Regions from separate parts of the Homo sapiens genome. Here all the other regions are linked to region 2. Evidence: promoter capture Hi-C in 16 types of primary human blood cells and fetal thymus (Javierre and others, 2016). All regions are on one chromosome and are shown on one strand. The core of a region is centred on a gene start or on the middle of the fragment in contact, and the rest is flanking DNA. Distances in the headings are between cores, read along the strand shown.

The links. Contacts are between HindIII fragments. The CHiCAGO score rates a contact against its expected background, and 5 or more counts as called.
Region 1: a fragment that was not itself captured here is called in contact with the fragment with the promoter of CSF3 in region 2 in 1 of 17 cell types (total B cells); the score reaches 7.0 in total B cells.
Region 3: a contact is called between a fragment that was not itself captured here and the fragment with the promoter of CSF3 in region 2, in 1 of 17 cell types (erythroblasts). The highest score is 5.1, in erythroblasts.

The regions. Positions count from the first base shown.
Region 1 is chr17:39,535,001-39,539,460 of GRCh38, forward strand. It overlaps a transcript of CDK12 not described here. Among named protein-coding and RNA genes, the nearest start is that of NEUROD2, 71 kb to the right of the region's middle. The HindIII fragment of the contact is 715 bases long and covers 1,627-2,341 here.
Region 2 is chr17:40,013,946-40,018,479 of GRCh38, forward strand. It overlaps CSF3 (colony stimulating factor 3), which reads left to right and starts at 1,495. Exons shown (of 5, transcript NM_172219.3): 1 at 1,495-1,569; 2 at 1,746-1,900; 3 at 2,288-2,395; 4 at 2,540-2,686; 5 at 2,850-3,868. The coding sequence starts at 1,530. The coding sequence ends at 3,014. It overlaps PSMD3-AS1 (PSMD3 antisense RNA 1), which reads right to left and starts at 696. Exons shown (of 3, transcript NR_198981.1): 1 at 609-696; 2 at 293-414. RefSeq lists an enhancer at 1,405-1,904. The HindIII fragment of the contact is 16,036 bases long and covers 1-4,534 here.
Region 3 is chr17:40,299,565-40,304,125 of GRCh38, forward strand. CDC6 (cell division cycle 6) reads left to right here. Exons shown (of 12, transcript NM_001254.4): 10 at 1,264-1,466; 11 at 1,904-2,044; 12 at 2,348-4,561. The coding sequence ends at 2,437. Among named protein-coding and RNA genes, the nearest start is that of RARA, 7.3 kb to the right of the region's middle. The HindIII fragment of the contact is 1,157 bases long and covers 1,241-2,397 here.

The sequences.
Region 1 (4,460 bases), core at 734-3,233, 480 kb before region 2:
GGGATTAGTGTACCTACCTTTGCTGAGATTTCCCGATGCGTTGCCAATCCAGAAAGTGAATCAAAAAGTTGTTTAAAAGTTAAAATCTCTATTGTTTCCAAAATCTTTCCCATCTCCACCTGAAGACAGAATTGCTTCCCCTTCTCTTTCATGGCTTAGAACACAGGATAAATTTGCCCCTGTGGTATGTGCTGCAATCCTGCTAGTTATGACAAATGGGCAGAGGGCAGATAAAGTCCACTAGGAGAAAGAAAGAAGGGCGATAGGTATCTGAAGTTGTAAATGGGGTGAGCAAGTCATACAGGAAGGTTAAGGGATACACCAGAGCAAGGGAAATTAGAAGGAAGTTGAGTTCAAAAACTGGTGATGATGAGAGTTGCTAACCTGTTTTTGAATCCTCAAAAGTTTAAGTGGTGTTCCCTTTCCTGTGGGCTAAGTCACATCTTATAAGGAGAATGGAGAGCTCAAGATTGTTCCAATTTCTGGAATTATGTGTTCCTGGTTGCAAGTTCATGATTGGGGTATAAACTTCAACCTACTAGAAAATACTGTTTTCACTTCATAGCAGTGAAAATTGAAGCAGTGTCTTTTCAATTCTGGGCCTAAAGGCTGAGGACCTTACTAACCTAGATTTTTCTGTCATACCCAAGGCCATTTCTAACCAGAAACCATGCTGTTCAGTACCTCAATTTCTTAGGCACTGTTCTTTCCTAGATAGGCATCCTTAACTGTATGGTTAATGCCTCAAAGAAGTAAACAGTTAATGCTCTTGGTGCTGATCTTGGGATTTCCATTGTTATTAAAGATTGCCTCATAGCTTGACTGTTTTTTAACTATGGAGTGACTTTTCATATCCTAATCATCCATAAGGGCTAAGTGGAATGGGAATGGGGAATTCCTCAAGGGAGGAAGCACTCAACCATTCCAAGGGAGAGGTGGAACTGCTGAGTCTTCTGGTTGTCCTGAGAGGCAAGGTGAGCATTCCTGGACACTTTGGTTAATTTTACTGTCCAGGTGTGACAGTTCTTATCTGTAGGAACACCTCCAGTGTTCCTAATTAGGAATTCTCTCAAGTAGGAGATTACTCCAAGCCAGAGTTGAAAGACTGGGGGAGTACGACACCTGAAGGAATTACTGGTGGTACTCCTTACTGTACGCAACTGTCTCTCCATCTCCTATCCACCCACTTCTTTTCCCTATTTCTCTTTCTCCCCACTCACCATTCAACTGGAATAATTTAGGCCTACCATCGGTATTGATTGCTTAACCCTACCAGGTATTTAGAGTTACTGCTATTTCATTGTTTTGAAAGGTAATGAGAGTCAATTCAGAAGACAAATGTCTATCTGGATCCTCAACCTACTGTAGTGGAAAGTGAAGGAGAAAGTAAACTAACCATACTTTCTTATTGCTAGGAGCTATGAAAGGAGCTTTTCATTTGTGTTATGTAGGGTACAAAAGATTATTTTGTACCCTGGCCAGGAAAGGCAGGGAGTCATCTTTCTGTCTTCCTGCTTCCCCTCTTTCAACCTTCACCTTTTTATCCTCTTCTTCCATATCCTGAGATTGTTGCTTTTGCTGATGACATTTCTAAGCTCAGTTGCAGATGGTGTCTGTGGGAAGTAAAGCTTGGTGAGAAGAGGGCTCTCTGGTATCTAAGAGAAAGCAGATAAGAGTTGCTTTAATGTCCTGGTGATTAATCACTGGGGTGCCAAAACACTTTGACCACTGGATTTCTCTCATATCTCTTATCTCAAAAAATTAGTACTCCAAGGCTGAGAGAAAGAGACTGATACTGAGTTTGTCTTTCATACCCTCTAAGTGGGTAGTTTGTTAGTGGACCATTCTCAATTTGCAACCTTCAGCTACAGCATACTTCTGTGGAATAAGAAGGTATAGCCATGAAATAAATTTACTTAGACCCAGGTTCTCTAGGACCTGTAAATGGATGGACTTTTTGATATCTTGCTCTGGCATGTTTGTAAACTACAGATAGTATTGACAGCTCTAAAGGAATGAAGGGCATTTTATCCAGGCCAAACCAACCCTGAGGGAGGCAGCATGAAGAAACCTTTAAGAAGTCCACCATATAGCAGTCAGAGCTAAGTAAAGAACAAAGTCTGAGTCTTGGAGGATGTCTTTTCTCTACCTAAGGGGCCTATCTGATGGACTCTCTAGGAGGGGATCCTTCTCCCTCCTCAGTCTCAGAACTACAATAGTGCCTAATGAGGGACACCCTTGGTGAGGATCAGCTTGTAGATGACCCTCCTCACCAAGGCTAATGCAATTTTGAATGCATTTGGACCTGGAGAAAACAGGCTGAATTCAAAGACCTAAAGAAAGCTTAGTAGCCTGGTCCCTTTTTTAAAGTCTGGAACTTTTTAGTTTGGCCTTATACTAGTGTTAATATTTATAATTTCTGTTAGGGGACCAAAAGTCTCAGAAAATGAAGCAATATAAGAGGTGGAAATAAGGGTAAGAAGGGAGAACTAGAAGAGTCTGGTAGCTGGGCTGCAGAAAGAGACTTGGGGTATAATTCCTTATTTTTATTTATTTATTTATTTATTTATTTATTTATTTATTTATTTTTGAGATGGACTTGCTCTTCTTGGAGTGCAGTGGTGTGATCTCGGCTCACTGCAGCCTCCACCTCCCAGGTTCCAGCAATTCTCCTGTCTCAGCCTCCCAAGTAGCTGGGATTACAGGTGCGTGCCACCATGCCCAGCTAATTTTTTGTATTTTTAGTAGTGACAGGGTTTCACCATGCTGGCCAGGCTGGTCTTGAACTCCTGACCTTGTGATCCACCCGCCTCGGCCTCCCAAAGTGCTCGGCCTCCCAAAGTGAGCCACCGCGCCCAGCTTGGATATAATTGCTTATAAAGAAGAGAGGGATACAGGATGGAAGGAAAAATTATGGTTGAGTTAGTGAAATTTATAGGATAATTTTCTTAGAGATTCACAGTTCATTTCAGGAAGACCCCATTAAAGCACCAATACTGAGTAAAGAATTCCCCTTAATTACAGTAGTCTTACCTTTAGGGTTGGAGGATGGGCCAAGAACCCCTAGGATACTATGAAGACATTTTCTGTAGGGAAACTAGAAAAGATGGGCAAATATGTTAAGCAATATGTAAGGACATTTACTTAACACTGTTATCTACATAGTTCAAGAGAGTAATTCAAGAATAAGGAGGAATGACATGGATGCATCACATTAAACAGTTATTTGTATTGTTTGAATTTCAAAACTCCTGCAAGTGGTTTTAGGTATGCTAAGTCAACCTAGAGACTAGTAGTATTCCTCTGCCACTCATTTTAGATCCAAATGATGGCAGTGCATAGAAGAACAAACGAGAATATGCGAATTAGAGTCACAGAATGTTAGAGCTACAAAAGAAGATTAGTTTGTTTGGTTCAGTACCATCTTTAACCAGTAAAAAATGCCCAGAAAGGCCGAGGAACATGTATGGTGTTGCGAGAAAGAAGGGAGAGAAAGGGAACTAACATTGTTGGGTACCTGCTATGTGTCAGGCGCTGCCTAAGTGCTTTGTTTTTATCTTGATTGATTAGCACCTTGAGGCTAAGGGATAGAATGAATAAATGGCAAACCCCGGCTACCTGGGAGCGGTGGCTCACGCCTGTAATCCCAGCACTTTGGGAGGCCAAGGTGGGTGGATCACGAGGTCAGGAGATCGAGACCATTCTGGCTTACACGGTGAAACCCCATCTCTACTAAAAATACAAAAAATTAGCCAGGCGTGGTGGCACAAGCCTGTAGTCCCAGCTTCCCGGGAGGCTGAGGCAGGAGAATTTGCTTGAACCCAGGAGGTGGAGGTTGCAGTGAGTGAAGATTGCGCCACTTCACTCCAGCCTAGGCGACAGAATGAGACTCCATCTCAAATAAATACATACATACATACATACATACATACATACATACATACATACATACATAAGGCTAGTATCCTGAGCAATATGTAGGAGATAAAAGGGAGTGGTAGACCACGTTTTTCTCTCTAACCACACAGGGCTAAACTAGAGGAAGTAAAGAGTCAGCATTTGAGAGTGAGGTTAATCTAAGGAAGTATTTGCCAAACTGTTGAAAGCGACTCATAAATAACTTCTCCATTCCTAGAGACCTTCCAAAACATGTTGATAAGAGTTAGGACTGATAGGGACCAAGATTACTCTTGGCTCTGGAATTGATTTTCATTTTGGAAAATCAAGTCATGACCTGAGAATGTGGGATTAATTGTACAAATAGGAAACAAAATGGAGCTTCTCATCCTAAAATGTCTTCAAAGAGAATAGTATTTATCTACCATGAATGAAGGAGATAAATTCCTTTGGTGACTGTACTTGTTTTTTTGTTTTGTTTTGTAACACTTTGAAGTCATGAAACTGAATTTGTAATCTTGGGGAGATTCAGTGCCAAGTTCAAGGCAGGTGGCAATTTGAAA
Region 2 (4,534 bases), core at 245-2,744:
CACATCCACTTCTCATCCAGAGATGTCTGTTTCTTGGCACGCTGGGGTAAATTAGGACAGAAGGTGACAGTCTTGGGTGTGGTCAGTCAGACTGCCCCAGGCAGGCCTTGTGGCCTGTAGAAAACGTTCAGGCCTAGGCCGGGCACGGTGGCTCACGCCTGTAATCCCAGCACTTTGGGAGGCCGAGGCGGGTGGATCACGAGGTCAGGAGATCGTGACCATCCTGGCTAACACGGTGAAACCCCGTCTCTACTAAAAATACAAAAAATTGGCCGGGCATGGTGGCGGGCACCTGTAGTTCCAGCTACTCGGGAGGCTGAGGCAGGAGAATGGCGTGAACCCGAGAGGCAGAGTTTGCAGTGAGCCGAGATCGCGCCACTGCACTCCAGCCTGGGCGACAGAGCAAGACTCCATCTGGAAAAGAAAAAGAAAACGTTCAGGTCTGAGCCAGAGGCCCAGGCTGTAATTCTGTCACTTACCATGACCTTGGGCAAGGCACTTCCTTCCCTGGCCCAGTTCACGGGGTTGGAATCGACTCCAAGGTCCCTTCCAGCATTAACGCTGCATGGTTCTAAGATGAGAAGATGGGGCAGTTTCCCCTCTCTCACCCCAGCCCGTGTCCACTTCAAGGTGAATGACCAGGGAAGTCACGTGTCCCAATCCCGCAGTTCCAAAGCCCTTGGGGACCCTACTGTCAGGGTCGTGCACGAGGAGGTGAAGGTCAGGTGAGCCAATCGCCTCGAAGGGTCTTGCCTCATTCGGGACAGACATCCGGTTTCCTCTGGCTCTACCGGGATTCTAGGGGCTTTAGCCGAATGAGTCATGGGGGGCGGGGGGGTTTCTGGGGGAGTTCCCAGCTAATCAACTTGGGACAGGACAGCCTGGAACTTTCGATGGTGCCTATCCAAGTGTGGGGTGGGCACAGCAGCCAAGACCCAATGTCCTTATCTCAGGTAGGGGCTCAGGAGGTCTCCCAGACAGGCAGCCTCCGGAGAGTTTGGGGGTAGGAATGGGAGCAACCAGCTTCTTTTTTTCTCTCTTAGAATTTGGGGGCTTGGGGGACAGGCTTGAGAATCCCAAAGGAGAGGGGCAAAGGACACTGCCCCCGCAAGTCTGCCAGAGCAGAGAGGGAGACCCCGACTCAGCTGCCACTTCCCCACAGGCTGCTGCCGCTTCCAGGCGTCTATCAGCGGCTCAGCCTTTGTTCAGCTGTTCTGTTCAAACACTCTGGGGCCATTCAGGCCTGGGTGGGGCAGCGGGAGGAAGGGAGTTTGAGGGGGGCAAGGCGACGTCAAAGGAGGATCAGAGATTCCACAATTTCACAAAACTTTCGCAAACAGCTTTTTGTTCCAACCCCCCTGCATTGTCTTGGACACCAAATTTGCATAAATCCTGGGAAGTTATTACTAAGCCTTAGTCGTGGCCCCAGGTAATTTCCTCCCAGGCCTCCATGGGGTTATGTATAAAGGCCCCCCTAGAGCTGGGCCCCAAAACAGCCCGGAGCCTGCAGCCCAGCCCCACCCAGACCCATGGCTGGACCTGCCACCCAGAGCCCCATGAAGCTGATGGGTGAGTGTCTTGGCCCAGGATGGGAGAGCCGCCTGCCCTGGCATGGGAGGGAGGCTGGTGTGACAGAGGGGCTGGGGATCCCCGTTCTGGGAATGGGGATTAAAGGCACCCAGTGTCCCCGAGAGGGCCTCAGGTGGTAGGGAACAGCATGTCTCCTGAGCCCGCTCTGTCCCCAGCCCTGCAGCTGCTGCTGTGGCACAGTGCACTCTGGACAGTGCAGGAAGCCACCCCCCTGGGCCCTGCCAGCTCCCTGCCCCAGAGCTTCCTGCTCAAGTGCTTAGAGCAAGTGAGGAAGATCCAGGGCGATGGCGCAGCGCTCCAGGAGAAGCTGGTGAGTGAGGTGGGTGAGAGGGCTGTGGAGGGAAGCCCGGTGGGGAGAGCTAAGGGGGATGGAACTGCAGGGCCAACATCCTCTGGAAGGGACGTGGGAGAATATTAGGAGCAGTGGAGCTGGGGAAGGCTGGGAAGGGACTTGGGGAGGAGGACCTTGGTGGGGACAGTGCTCGGGAGGGCTGGCTGGGATGGGAGTGGAGGCATTACATTCAGGAGAAAGGGCAAGGGCCCCTGTGAGATCAGAGAGTGGGGGTGCAGGGCAGAGAGGAACTGAACAGCCTGGCAGGACATGGAGGGAGGGGAAAGACCAGAGAGTCGGGGAGGACCCGGGAAGGAGCGGCGACCCGGCCATGGCGAGTCTCACTCAGCATCCTTCCATCCCCAGTGTGCCACCTACAAGCTGTGCCACCCCGAGGAGCTGGTGCTGCTCGGACACTCTCTGGGCATCCCCTGGGCTCCCCTGAGCAGCTGCCCCAGCCAGGCCCTGCAGCTGGTGAGTGTCAGGAAAGGATAAGGCTAATGAGGAGGGGGAAGGAGAGGAGGAACACCCATGGGCTCCCCCATGTCTCCAGGTTCCAAGCTGGGGGCCTGACGTATCTCAGGCAGCACCCCCTAACTCTTCCGCTCTGTCTCACAGGCAGGCTGCTTGAGCCAACTCCATAGCGGCCTTTTCCTCTACCAGGGGCTCCTGCAGGCCCTGGAAGGGATCTCCCCCGAGTTGGGTCCCACCTTGGACACACTGCAGCTGGACGTCGCCGACTTTGCCACCACCATCTGGCAGCAGGTGAGCCTTGTTGGGCAGGGTGGCCAAGGTCGTGCTGGCATTCTGGGCACCACAGCCAGGCCTGTGTATGGGCCCTGTCCATGCTGTCACCCCCAGCATTTCCTCATTTGTAATAACGCCCACTCAGAAGGGCCCAACCACTGATCACAGCTTTCCCCCACAGATGGAAGAACTGGGAATGGCCCCTGCCCTGCAGCCCACCCAGGGTGCCATGCCGGCCTTCGCCTCTGCTTTCCAGCGCCGGGCAGGAGGGGTCCTGGTTGCCTCCCATCTGCAGAGCTTCCTGGAGGTGTCGTACCGCGTTCTACGCCACCTTGCCCAGCCCTGAGCCAAGCCCTCCCCATCCCATGTATTTATCTCTATTTAATATTTATGTCTATTTAAGCCTCATATTTAAAGACAGGGAAGAGCAGAACGGAGCCCCAGGCCTCTGTGTCCTTCCCTGCATTTCTGAGTTTCATTCTCCTGCCTGTAGCAGTGAGAAAAAGCTCCTGTCCTCCCATCCCCTGGACTGGGAGGTAGATAGGTAAATACCAAGTATTTATTACTATGACTGCTCCCCAGCCCTGGCTCTGCAATGGGCACTGGGATGAGCCGCTGTGAGCCCCTGGTCCTGAGGGTCCCCACCTGGGACCCTTGAGAGTATCAGGTCTCCCACGTGGGAGACAAGAAATCCCTGTTTAATATTTAAACAGCAGTGTTCCCCATCTGGGTCCTTGCACCCCTCACTCTGGCCTCAGCCGACTGCACAGCGGCCCCTGCATCCCCTTGGCTGTGAGGCCCCTGGACAAGCAGAGGTGGCCAGAGCTGGGAGGCATGGCCCTGGGGTCCCACGAATTTGCTGGGGAATCTCGTTTTTCTTCTTAAGACTTTTGGGACATGGTTTGACTCCCGAACATCACCGACGCGTCTCCTGTTTTTCTGGGTGGCCTCGGGACACCTGCCCTGCCCCCACGAGGGTCAGGACTGTGACTCTTTTTAGGGCCAGGCAGGTGCCTGGACATTTGCCTTGCTGGACGGGGACTGGGGATGTGGGAGGGAGCAGACAGGAGGAATCATGTCAGGCCTGTGTGTGAAAGGAAGCTCCACTGTCACCCTCCACCTCTTCACCCCCCACTCACCAGTGTCCCCTCCACTGTCACATTGTAACTGAACTTCAGGATAATAAAGTGTTTGCCTCCAGTCACGTCCTTCCTCCTTCTTGAGTCCAGCTGGTGCCTGGCCAGGGGCTGGGGAGGTGGCTGAAGGGTGGGAGAGGCCAGAGGGAGGTCGGGGAGGAGGTCTGGGGAGGAGGTCCAGGGAGGAGGAGGAAAGTTCTCAAGTTCGTCTGACATTCATTCCGTTAGCACATATTTATCTGAGCACCTACTCTGTGCAGACGCTGGGCTAAGTGCTGGGGACACAGCAGGGAACAAGGCAGACATGGAATCTGCACTCGAGCAGCCAAAGCCTGGCAGGGAAGACAGAGGCACAGGGACCATGGGAACCCGGAAAGGAGAGGGCATGGGGTCTGGGTGGGCTTAACAGGCCAGACACAGCCAGACAAGATGAAGCCAGGGAGTGCTGAGCATCTGCACCAGGCTTGTCATTTACCATCTTCCATAAACTTGAGCCCATCCATCAAGTTGCCCACAAAGTGGAAGCCAAGTTCAAGGTGACCACTGGGGTCAGAGCTTCTCTCCTCAGACTCGGTCTCTGCACTCGCCCCAGCTGGTCACTTCCTGCTTGTGGCAGCCTTGGGCTGAAGAGCGCTAAGCTCACAGCCCAGGAGGGTGGGGAGCTGTGGCAAGCAGGGGGGGCAGCGACCGCACCACAGGTGTGAGGCCTGCCTGCAGCCAAAGACTCCTG
Region 3 (4,561 bases), core at 569-3,068, 290 kb after region 2:
AGCTTATTGGCAGTTTCCCAACCCCTGGCTTTTATTAAGATGATGATATCTGGCCAGGCATGGTGGCTTACGCCCATAATCCCAGTGCTTTGGGAGGCCGAGGAGGGCAGATTGCTTTGAGCTAAGGAGTTCAAGACCAGCCTGGGCAACATGATGAAACCCCATCTCTACAAAAAATACCAAAAAGAAAAAAAAAAAAAAAAAGATGGTGCTATCTGCTAGCATATCCAATGACATTTTCTCAAGTGTTGCTCTACTGCTAATCAGCTTGGGCAAGTGAACCAAACCTCAAAGGTCATTTGGGGAAGCCATCTGAAGGGCTGACATGGCAGCGACTTCACTCTCCACATTTAGCCACTCATTTGATCCAAAATATTCGGTAATTTTCCAACTTTTTTTTCCCTTTCTTTTTTTTTTATATGGAGTTTCACTCTTGTCGTCCAGGCTGGAGTGCAGTGGCACAATCTTGGCTCACTGCACCTCTGCCTCCCGGGTTCAAGTGATTCTTCTGCCTCAACCTCCCAAGTAGCTGGGATTACAGGCGCCTGCCACCACATCCAGCTAATTTTTTGTATTTTTAGTAGAGATGGAGTTTCGCCGTGTTGGGCAGGCTGGTCTCCAACTCCTGACCTCAGGTGATCTGCCCGCCTTGATCTCCCAAAGTGCTGGGATTACAGGCGTGAGCCACTGCACCTGGCCTTTTTTTTCCTTTCTTAATTACCAAGCACAGTCACCATCTTTGCTTCAAGGTTCTGTTATTCTATACCTCTGAGATACTAGGAACTAGCCTGGCATGGTGGCACGTACCTGTAATCCTAGCTACACAGGAGGCTGAGGCAGGAGGATCACTTGAACCCAGGAAGCCAAGGCTGCAGTGAGCCATGATAGTGCCACTGTACTCCAGCCTGAGTGACAGAGATCCTGTCCCAAAAAAAAATACAGTAGTTCTCTGGTCCTTTCATGAGGTGGGTTTTGTTCCTCTGACATTAAATTACATTCCATAGGACAAAACAGCTCACTATTTGGCCCAGAGAAAGGGTAACCCTACTTTTCAAGTCATCCCACATTATTTTGACATCCTTAAGAGAATAGCATTATCTCTCATCCTTTGGCCTCTGGTTAGAGATTTAAAACCTCTGCTTTGCCACCATGTGACTATACTTGAATTTCCTTTAGCTCAAACTTAGTATCATCTGTCTCATCATACATACACACACACAGTATTTTAGAAATCGAATTAAGCTTGGCTTATTTACTTTATAGGTAAATCACCTTCTGAGCCTCTGATTCCCAAGAGGGTTGGTCTTATTCACATATCCCAAGTCATCTCAGAAGTTGATGGTAACAGGATGACCTTGAGCCAAGAAGGAGCACAAGATTCCTTCCCTCTTCAGCAGAAGATCTTGGTTTGCTCTTTGATGCTCTTGATCAGGCAGTTGAAAATCAAAGAGGTCACTCTGGGGAAGGTAAGTTGGGATGGAGCAGATGGAACGGAGGTAGAGATCAGAATCTGCTTTGCAGAGCAGGTATTTTCCAAAAGGCCTATGATACTTCAGCTGATAATAAATTTAAAATGGATTTTAACAGTAAGAATTAATACTGGTACTATATAAAAGGCACCTATTTCCCTTGGATTGTGGTTGAGAGTTTATCATTAATCCTTTCCCTATCCTCCCCTTCATTTCTGCATCTCTCTAGGAAATATATAAAGCCCCTTTCCTACATTACTGTATAGGTTTTCGGGAATATCTACAGAAGCCTGTTCAAAGATTTTATTGAAAAGAGGAAGAAATAGGGTATTCAGATAAGTTTTTGCAAACCCAGACTCAGGTTTCTTAAATGATTAAAGGCTATAAGCAATGTGACTTTTAAGCAGCGTTTGTTCTCCCTTGTTTCCTACCAGTTATATGAAGCCTACAGTAAAGTCTGTCGCAAACAGCAGGTGGCGGCTGTGGACCAGTCAGAGTGTTTGTCACTTTCAGGGCTCTTGGAAGCCAGGGGCATTTTAGGATTAAAGAGAAACAAGGAAACCCGTTTGACAAAGGTACAACTGCTTTTTTGTGACAGTGTTTTTAATTGTCCTATTTTGTAGAGTGATGCTAAAGTAAAGGTTTATTGTTAAACAAGATGACCACAGTTAGTTAAACAAGTCGTTTTTTGTTAGGTAAGGTTTAAGGTGTGTAAAGATGGGAGTGTGATATGAATATTTTTTCAAGCCATTGGAAAAAAAAGTGTTTAACTTGCTTGCCTTTTGTGAGAAAAAGTTTAATATGGTAGAAGTTTGTATACTGACAACTTTGCTTTTGTGAGTTCCCCAGTGTGAAAAATCCTTTTCTCTTCTTTCCAGGTGTTTTTCAAGATTGAAGAGAAAGAAATAGAACATGCTCTGAAAGATAAAGCTTTAATTGGAAATATCTTAGCTACTGGATTGCCTTAAATTCTTCTCTTACACCCCACCCGAAAGTATTCAGCTGGCATTTAGAGAGCTACAGTCTTCATTTTAGTGCTTTACACATTCGGGCCTGAAAACAAATATGACCTTTTTTACTTGAAGCCAATGAATTTTAATCTATAGATTCTTTAATATTAGCACAGAATAATATCTTTGGGTCTTACTATTTTTACCCATAAAAGTGACCAGGTAGACCCTTTTTAATTACATTCACTACTTCTACCACTTGTGTATCTCTAGCCAATGTGCTTGCAAGTGTACAGATCTGTGTAGAGGAATGTGTGTATATTTACCTCTTCGTTTGCTCAAACATGAGTGGGTATTTTTTTGTTTGTTTTTTTTGTTGTTGTTGTTTTTGAGGCGCGTCTCACCCTGTTGCCCAGGCTGGAGTGCAATGGCGCGTTCTCTGCTCACTACAGCACCCGCTTCCCAGGTTGAAGTGATTCTCTTGCCTCAGCCTCCCGAGTAGCTGGGATTACAGGTGCCCACCACCGCGCCCAGCTAATTTTTTAATTTTTAGTAGAGACAGGGTTTTACCATGTTGGCCAGGCTGGTCTTGAACTCCTGACCCTCAAGTGATCTGCCCACCTTGGCCTCCCTAAGTGCTGGGATTATAGGCGTGAGCCACCATGCTCAGCCATTAAGGTATTTTGTTAAGAACTTTAAGTTTAGGGTAAGAAGAATGAAAATGATCCAGAAAAATGCAAGCAAGTCCACATGGAGATTTGGAGGACACTGGTTAAAGAATTTATTTCTTTGTATAGTATACTATGTTCATGGTGCAGATACTACAACATTGTGGCATTTTAGACTCGTTGAGTTTCTTGGGCACTCCCAAGGGCGTTGGGGTCATAAGGAGACTATAACTCTACAGATTGTGAATATATTTATTTTCAAGTTGCATTCTTTGTCTTTTTAAGCAATCAGATTTCAAGAGAGCTCAAGCTTTCAGAAGTCAATGTGAAAATTCCTTCCTAGGCTGTCCCACAGTCTTTGCTGCCCTTAGATGAAGCCACTTGTTTCAAGATGACTACTTTGGGGTTGGGTTTTCATCTAAACACATTTTTCCAGTCTTATTAGATAAATTAGTCCATATGGTTGGTTAATCAAGAGCCTTCTGGGTTTGGTTTGGTGGCATTAAATGGCAATTTGTGACTGAGACACCAGAGGGCACCCTTATAACATTGACTACTTTGAAAGGGGATGCTTGAGGCTGAGGTAGTTTTGAGGGAAAGGGGGAAGTTCTAGTTTGATTTGTTTGGGAGATTGCTGTCCTTTCATAACTGAAGCAAATGCTTGAAATGTAAACCATGTGTGATACGAATGATCTGAGAGCCAGTGACCAAGTCTGCTTTTCCCTGAGCTCTCCTGCTGCCGCCTCTACCTTTCTGACATGGCCTTCCATTTGGAACTTGATATGTGTACAAGTGATCTGTTGGCCACTGTTTCATTCATCCTGACCACTGTATCCGTGTAATGTGATCTGAGCTACAACAGGTGGTATGGGATAGAGGCAAGGAAAGCAGAGAGAGCCCTCTGAAATGAACACTACCCACTGGTGTGTGTAGCACATGATAGTCTGTAGGCATGAGTCTGAATGTTGTTCTCACACTCCTTTACTAGAGTATTCGTTCCCTCTGAAGGTAGTTTGAACATGGAAACACAGTTCTATACCTAGAAGGTTGGAAAGTGTCTGGGACTATAAGGGTTAACATGCATAATTGCAAAGATTGTCCGAAGGCTGATGGAAAGCAGAGACTGAATGGGATTGAGAACAGATGCGAAGCTTGATTTAAATTACATTTTATTGGATGCTGCAGCCTTAAGAGACGTGACTGCTTTACAGTTTGTTTCCACACTGTGGGCAGCTGCTGTCTGTTCTGTGTCCACAGTAGGATCCTGCCCAATAAGGAGCAGCCTCCCCACCTCATTGTGTTTGAGGCTTGGCGCCTTCCTCTTAACTGTAGGGCTTGAGTCAGGAACATGGCTTGACTCGCAGTGGGGCTGCTATGTATCCTCCCTGGCTTCCAGCCAAAATCACATTGGTAGATTCAAAGGGGCCAAATTTCTTTCCCCTCTATCTTTCCCTTTCCCCTGGTTTTGGAAATA